3 separate regions of the Homo sapiens genome follow, and regions 1 and 2 are each linked to region 3. The links are contacts of gene promoters, found by promoter capture Hi-C in blood cells and fetal thymus (Javierre and others, 2016). All regions are on one chromosome and are shown on one strand. The core of a region is centred on a gene start or on the middle of the fragment in contact, and the rest is flanking DNA. Distances in the headings are between cores, read along the strand shown. Region 1 has its middle 6.6 kb from the start of VPS18. Region 2 has its middle 43 kb from the start of CCDC32. Region 3 holds the start of RMDN3 (regulator of microtubule dynamics 3).

Region 1 (2,700 bases), core at 66-2,565, 130 kb after region 3:
TAGCAGGGAGGGGATACTTTTTGAGAATTGGGGCGATTCAGGTAGGTTTAGACACATGCAGAAGGGAGCCAAACATGAAGGAGAAGAAAGAAGGGCGTGGAGAGCTGTTCTGAACAGGCCAAGGGTCTTCTTTCCTCAGCATATTTTAATGGAAGCCAACAACTGTGCTAGGCCCTGTGCCAGGAAGTGGTGTGCTAGAGACACTTTTCCCTGTCTGGTGAGAATTAGAGAAGACAGGGGCCTGGTCCTGGCAAGGGGAGGAGTATCAGGGAAGCCATTCTAGAGGGAGCAAATCCTCAACACCAGACACTCTAATGTCCAAATGGGTGTGGTGCATTTTGGAAACATCCTTAGATCAGCGTGACTGGGGCTCTGAGCAATGAAAACAGATGGAATTTAACTGGGGATGGGGCAAAGGACTGCTAGGTTTTCTTTCTTAGTAAGTCTTTTTTTTTTTTTTTTTTTTTTTTGAGACAGCAGGCTCACTCTGTCACATAGGCTGGAGTGCAGTGGCACAATCTCAGCTCACTGCAACCTCTGCTTAGCGATTCTTCAGGCTCAGCCTCCCGAGTAGCTGGGACTACAGGTGTGCACCACCATGTCTGGCCAGAATGCCAGAATTCCAAAGGATTTATGCAGATACTTCACCCTCAAGGAAGCAAAAACTCCCACCCCTTAAGTGCAGGGTGTGTAGGTGTGTAGTGACTTCCTTCCAAACAGTACAGCATGGAAAGGAGGGAAAAGAGTAACTCTGTAGTGGAGAATCCTGACAAGCACTATCTTGGTCAGGTGATCAGTCATGATGATAAATCATGTTGATAGTGTGTATCCTCGATATAATAGAGAGGTGTTGATAATGGTTCTTTATCTCCCCAAACCATAAATAGCCCTAGTCTAAACATGAAAAAAAATTAAATGAATTCCAACAGAGAGCATTCAACAAAATACTTGCCTAGTACTCAAAATTATCAAGGTAATCAAAAACAAGGAATATCTGAAAAACTTAAAAACTGCCAGTCAAGAGCAGTCCAAGGAGACATGACGACTGTTTTTCCCTATACATAACCTGTGATAAAATTTAATTTATAAATTAGGCCCACTGTGAGATTAACAACAATAATAATATAGGACAGTTATAACAACAGACTGTAATAAAAGCTATGTAGGCCAGATGAGGTGGCTCATGCCTGTAATCCCAGCACTTTGGGAGGCCAAGGCAGGCAGATCACCTGAGGTCGGGAGTTCGAGACCAGCCTGACCAACATGGAGAAACCCTGTCTCTACTTTTAAAAATACAAAATTAGCTGGGCATGGTGGCACATGCCTGTAATCCCAGTTACTCGGGAGGCTGAGGCAGAAGAATCACTTGAACCCGGGAGGCGGAGGTTGTGGTGAGCCGAGATAGCGCCATTGCACTCCAGCCTGGGCAACAAGAGTGAAACTCCGTCTCAAAAAAAAAAAAAACAAACAAGTTATGTGAGGCTGGGTGCGGTGGCTCACACCTATAATCCCAACACTTTGGGAGGCTGAGGTGGGCAGATCACCTGAGGTCATGAGTTGGAGACCAGCCTGGCCAACATGGTGAGACCCCGTCTCTACTAAAAATACTAAAATTAGCCAGGCATGGTGGTGGGTGCCTGTAGTCCCAGCTACTCGGGAGGCAGAGGCAGGAGAATTGCTTGAACCCAGGAAGTGGAGGTTGCAGTGAGCCGAGATTGCACCATAGCACTCTAGCCTGGGCAACAGATCAAGACTCCATCTCAAAAATAAATAAATAAATAAAAGTTAGGTGAATGTGTTCTCACTCTCTCAAAATATATTATTCTATTATCCACACCTATTTCAGACTGCTATTGACTGCAGGCAACTGAAAGCCCAGAAAGCAAAACTACAGATAAGGGGGAACTGCTGTACTTCAAATGGACACAGGCATCAATGAAAAAGCCTCCGGCAGGGCACAGTGGCTGATGCCCATAATCCCAGCACTTTGGGAGGCCGAGGCGGGCAGATCACAAGGTCAGGAGATCGAGACCATCCTGGCCAACATGGTGAAACCCGTCTCTACTAAAAATACAAAAATTAGCTGGGCGTGGTGGTGCGCCCTTGTAGTCCCAGCTACTCAGGAGGCTCAGGCAGGAGAATTACTTGAACCAGGGAGGCAGAGGTTGCAGTGAGCCAAGATTGCGCCACTGCACTCCAGCCTGGTGACAGAGCCAGACTCCGTCTCAAAAAATAATAATAATAAATAAAATAAAATAAAAAAGAGAGACTCTAGTGGCCCAAACAGGAACAATCTGAGTAATAATATAAAGTAGTATTGGTGGGTTCTGGAAGTTAAAAATAAATAAATAAAAATAGACCTGGCGCGGTGGCTCATGCCTGTAAACCCAGTACTTTGGGAGGCCGAGGTGAGTGGATCACTTGAGGTCAGGAGTTCGAGACCAGCCTGGCCAACATGGTGAAACCCCGTCTCTACTAAAAATACAAAAATTAGTCAGGCGTGATGGCACGCGCCTGTATTCCCAGCTACTTGGGAGGCTGAGACAGGAGAATTGCTTGAACCCAGGAGGTGGGGGTTGCTGTGAGCTGAGATTGCACCACTGCACTCCAGCCTGGCCAACAGAGTGAGACTCAGTCTCAAAAAAAGAATAAATAAATAAATAAATAAAAAGGGAAAAAAGAAAAAAATGTCCACAATTC
Region 2 (2,700 bases), core at 159-2,658, 230 kb before region 3:
TTTCAGCAAATAACTACTGACATGAATTCATAAATGGCATCATTTTGCATTCTGCTCTGTAGGCTTATAATAAAAGTACTTCGTCTACAAAGCAATAATGCAACTTTATTTATAAAATCATTTTCCAATTAAGAAAATTTTCAATGGTTTATAAAAGTGGACATTTGCACAATCTTTTTCATAATTCATGAAATTGTTTAAAGTGTAAAATTCAGTATTTTTTAGTATATTCACAGAATTCTGCAACATCACCAGAATAAATTTTAGAATATAATTGAATCTTGAACAACGTGGAGGTTAGGGGTGCCAGCCTCCCTGCAGCTAAAAATCCATGTATAACTTTTGACTCCCCCAGAGCTTAACTACTAATAGCCTTCTGTTTACCTGAAGCCTTAGTGATAACATAAACAGTTGATTAACGCATATTTTGTCTGCTATATGTATTATACTCTTACAATAAAGTAAGCTAGAGAAAAGGAATGCTATCAGGAAACTCATAAGAAAGAAAAAACTATGTTTACTATTCATTAAGTGGAAGTGGATCATCATAAAGATCTTCATCCTTGTCATCTTCGCGTCGAGTAGGCTGAGGAGGAGGAGGAAAACGGGTTGGTCTTGCTGTCTTGGGGTGGCACAGTCAGAAGAAACTTTGTCTATCAGTGGACCAGTGCAGTTCAAACCTGTGTTGTTCAAGAGTCAACTGTATTTTCATCACCCCCGAAAAAGAAACCCTATATCCATTAGCAGTCACTCCTCATTTCCCCTATATATTTGCATATTCTAGACATTGCATATAGATGGGATTATACAACGCGTGTCTTTTGTGACACTTTTCTCACTTGGCATAACGTTTTCAAGGTTCATCCACGTTGTAGCATGTATCAGTACTTCATTCCTTTGTAGTGCCAAATAATATTCCATTGTATGGAATTTTATTTATCCATCCATCAATGGATGGATATTTGGGTTATTTCCACTTTGGGCTACTATGAATAATGCTGCTATGAATATTCATATACACGTTTTTGTGTGGGATATACCTAGGAGTGAAATTGCTGCATCATATGACTGTTTTCCAAAGTGGATGCACCACTGTACGTTCCCACTAACAATGTATGAGGGTTCCAGTTTCTCTACATCCTCGCAGACTCTTGTTATTGTCTATCTTTTTGATAATAGCCATCCTAATGAGTGTTAAGTGGTATCTCATTGTAGTTTTGATTTGCCTTTCCATGATGGCTAGTGGCCATTTCTGTATCTTCTTTGGAGCTATGTCTATTCAGATCCTTTGCCCATTGTTTAATTGGGTTATTTGTCATTTTATGATTGAGTTGTTAAAGTTCTTCATAAATTCTAGACAGCAGTCCCTTATCAGATATCTGATTTGCAGATATTTTATGCCATTCTGTGAATTGTCTTTTCACCTTCCTATTGGTGTTCTTTGAAGCACCAAAATTTATAATTGTGATAAAGTCCAGTTTATCTATTTTTTTCTTTTGTCACTTGTGCTTTGGCCCATACCAAGGTCACAAATATTATTCCTATATTTTCTTCCTATATTTCTTCTAAGAAATATATGGTTTCTCCAAAGTAATGCAGATTATTTAAAAAAAGAGAAAAAAAGAAATATGTGGCATGTAGGGTGTCAGATAGGGGTCCAATTTCATTCCTTTGCAGTTGTATATCCAGTTGTCCCAACACCATTTGTTAAAAATACTATTTTTTTCTCCATTCAATTGTCTTGACACTCTTGTTGAAAATCAATTAATCATAAATGAAAGGGTATACTTCTGGACTCACAATTCTATTCTATTGCTTTATGTCTATCCTTATGGCAGTACCACACTGTCTTGATTACCACGGTTTTATAGGAAGTTTTGAAATTAGGAAGTGTGAGCCCTCCAACTTTGTTCTTCTTTTTCAAGACTGTTTTGGCTATTCTGGATTCCTGGAATTTCTATATGAATTTTAGAATCAGCTTGTCAATTTCTACCAAAAAATCCAGCTGTGATTTTGCTGTAGATTGCAATGAATCTGTAGATCATTTTGGGGAAAACTGGCATCTTAACCATGTTAAGTCTTCTGATCAATGAACATAGAACGTCTTTCCTTTAATTTAGGTGTACATCTGCTTTTTAAATGTTACTGGGCAGGGAGCTTAAATATCAGATGGTTCTAGTTTATTCTCAAACACTTGGGTAACTTGAGTAAAGCCCATTAAGCATGTAGATGTCACTCAGCAAAGCCTGAGGAGGACAGTCCCTACCTTTGCAGTACGGACAGTTGCTCAGCATAACTCAGAGGTGCTGCCACAGGTTTCTGGTTTTCCTTTCTTTTTTTTTTTTTTTTTTGAAACTATTTCGCTCTTGTTGCCCAGACTGAAGGGCAGTGGCGCAGTCTCACTCACTGCAACTTCGGTCTCCAGGGTTCAAGCGATTCTCCCGCCTCAACCTCCCGAGTAGTGGGGATTATAGGAGTATGCCACCACGCCTGGCTAATTTTTGTATTTTTAGTAGAGAGTGTGTTTTCGCCATGTTAGTCAGGCTGGTCTTCAACTCCTGAACTTACCTAAGGTCAGGAGTTTGAGACTAGCCTGGCCAACATAGTGAAACCTCATCTCTACTAAGTGATCCACCCACCTCAGCCTCCCAAAGTGCTGGGATTACAAGAGTGAGCCACTGTACCTGGCCAGCTGCTGGT
Region 3 (2,700 bases), core at 14-2,513:
TCACCCAACACTAAGCAAGTGCCTTTAATACCCACATAGCACTATTGTGGCCAGAACTAAAAGTGAAAGTTAAACAGTCTTTTTGAAATATACTTTCTTGTGAGTACAGGCGAAAGAGTAGAGAAAACCACGACTGCTTTTTTTTTTTTTTTTTTTTTGAGACAGAGTCCCACTCTGTCACCCAGGCTGGAGTGCAGTGGCGCAACCTCAGCTCACTGCGGCCTCCGCCTACCAGGTTCAAGCGATTCTCGTGCCTCAGCCTCCCCAGTAGCTGGGACTACAGGCCGCGCCACCACGCCCGGCTAATTTTTGTATTTTTAGTAGAGATGGGGTTTCACCATGTTGACATCTGGTTGAACGTTGGCCAGGCTGGTCTTGAACTCCTGACCTCAGGTGATCCGCCCGCCTCGGCCTCCCAAAGTGCTGGGATTACAGGCGTGAGCCACCGCGCCCAGCCCGACGACTGCTTTTTCAACAAGCTTCCAAAAAAGTGAAACCCTAAAGCACTTCTCTCCGTTACCCTGTCCCACAGTCTCCACCGAAAGCAGCCCAGACCTCAGGCCCATTAGTCTGCAGTGACCGCGGTCTCAGGAGACGGGCTCCTACCGTGGCGTCCGGGATCTGAAGTCTGCGTATAGTCCAGGGAGTTGGGCAGGCTCTGGCTGCGGCCATGACGCTGGGTCCGTTTCCATCGCTGGCTGTAAAGGAGGCACAGGAATCCAAGGCCGGCGGCGGTACCCAGCAACAGTCCCAGCCCGGCACGGGCACCACCCAGGGCTCCCAGTCTAGACATGCTGCACCTGCGGCCAGCAGAAGTCACCGGGAGCAGGCAGGCGGGCGGGCGGGCGGGGGTAAGGAGAGAGAGAGATTCGTGAACCCGGTAAACCCACCCTCAAGGCTGAACCCCGGCAGGTATCCCCTTGCCCAAACCCTGAGCTCTCGACTACGTGCACCCCAGTCTGAACCCTAAGGCTTCCTCCAGCCTCCTGGGCCCCACTGCCTCTCTTCTCACCCAGCCTGGACGTAGCCGCCCCTCCAGTACACCCCCCGACCCGGGTCACAGAGTCCGGCTTCTGGGCCTTCAACCCCCACCTCAGCCTCACGACACTGCAGACCACAAACCCGGCGCCCTGGCTGCAAACTCCTGGCCTTCCGCCGCGGCCCCCGAAGGCGCTCTGGCCTGGCAGGAGATCCACTCAGACCCTTACCCGGCCGCCAGCCACCATGGCAGCAGCCGCCGCGGGCTCACGCTGTCAGTGACCGTGACGTCAGGCAGGCGGCGCCAGGTGCTCGGCGCCCTGCGGGAAGGCGCAGAGAGATGACCGCGCCGGCCCCGCCCCTTGTCTGTTTCCCTCAGGGGCGGGGCCACGGGCGCCGCCGGAGGGGCGGAGTCAGCACAGAGCGCGAAAGGAAAGCAAGAAGGGGCCCAAGACAGGGGAAAGGCGGGAAGGCAGGGAGACTTCTTGGGCGGACGCTCGCGCAGTCACCCTCACCGTCCGGCAGCCAGGCCTCCATTTCCCTCCGGTCACACCGGCTTAACTTGCTGCTCCCGGAATACGCTCAGCATATTCACACTTTCTACCTGCGCTTCTGCCTGGACCTCCCCTCTGTACCTGGAAAACGTCACGCTCTCCCCACATTTTATTTTTATTTTTATTTTGTAGAGACTGGGTCCCGCTCTCCTGGTCTCTCAAAGTGCGATCCGCCCGCCTCGGGCTCCCAAAGTGCGTGAGCCGCCGCACCCGGCCATAAATCTTAAACCTAACGTGCTGTCTTATAATTCTGTTTTACTCTTGTAATTGTATGCAACTTCTTATAATTGTGGCAACTAAAAAGACCGATTTTATGGACTATGATAACAATTTTATTGTGAACATTTCTTAAGAGTTAAAATTTAGTTTAGTGAAAGAAATATCTAGGCCAGTCCTCCCAATACCCTTGACTAGATCTTATATTTATTTACCCTTTAATTGTGAGATATTGTATACATATAAGAATACAGGAGGCCGGCCGTGGTGGCACGTGACTGTAGTCACAGATACTCTGGGGGCTGAGATGGGAGGATCACTTGAGCCCAGGTCGTCGAGGCTGCAGTGAGCCATGATCACTCTGGGCAACAGAAGTCAGGATATCGAGGCCACCCAGGCCAACCTGGCGAAACTCCGTCTCTACTAAAAGTACAAAAATTAGCTGGGCATGGTGGTGCACGCCTGTAATCCCAGCTACTCGGGAGGCTGAGGCAGGAGAATTGCTTGAACCCAGGAGGCAGAGGTTGCAGTGAGCCGAGATCTCGCCACTGTACTCCAGCTTGGGCAACAGAGTGAGGCCTCCTCTCAAAACAAATAAACAAAAACAACAACAACAAAAAATATATTTATATATATATAAAGTATATATATATATATACACTTTATTTTGGAGGAAATAAAAATTTCCTCTGGAAACCTTCCCAGATCACCACCTTGGTGAAATTAAGCTTTTCACCCTGCTTTGCTCCTGTGGCTCTATTGCCTCCATTATACTTTTTTTTTTTTTTTAGACGGAGTTTCGCTCTTTTCGCCCATGCTGGAATGCAGTGGTGCGATCTCGGCTCACTGCAACCTCCTCCCCCGCCCCTGGGTTCAAGCAATTCTCCTGCCTCAGCCTCCGGAGTAGCTGGAATTACAGGCTTGCACCCCCACGCCTGGCTACTTTTTGTAT

The links. The method cuts DNA at HindIII sites, captures the fragments that hold promoters and counts their contacts. A CHiCAGO score of 5 or more calls a contact.
Region 1: a contact is called between a fragment that was not itself captured here and the fragment with the promoter of RMDN3 in region 3, in 1 of 17 cell types (endothelial precursors). The highest score is 6.4, in endothelial precursors.
Region 2: a fragment that was not itself captured here is called in contact with the fragment with the promoter of RMDN3 in region 3 in 1 of 17 cell types (naive B cells); the score reaches 5.0 in naive B cells.

The regions. Positions count from the first base shown.
Region 1 is chr15:40,886,463-40,889,162 of GRCh38, forward strand. No RefSeq gene overlaps it. Among named protein-coding and RNA genes, the nearest start is that of VPS18, 6.6 kb to the right of the region's middle. The HindIII fragment of the contact is 3,310 bases long and covers 1-2,700 here.
Region 2 is chr15:40,520,496-40,523,195 of GRCh38, forward strand. It overlaps a transcript of CCDC32 not described here. Among named protein-coding and RNA genes, the nearest start is that of CCDC32, 43 kb to the right of the region's middle. The HindIII fragment of the contact is 7,648 bases long and covers 1-2,700 here.
Region 3 is chr15:40,753,991-40,756,690 of GRCh38, forward strand. It overlaps RMDN3 (regulator of microtubule dynamics 3), which reads right to left and starts at 1,264. Exons shown (of 13, transcript NM_018145.3): 1 at 1,093-1,264; 2 at 607-800. The coding sequence starts at 793. RefSeq lists a silencer at 655-869 and enhancers at 985-1,194, 1,405-1,524, 1,615-1,724. The HindIII fragment of the contact is 1,997 bases long and covers 478-2,474 here.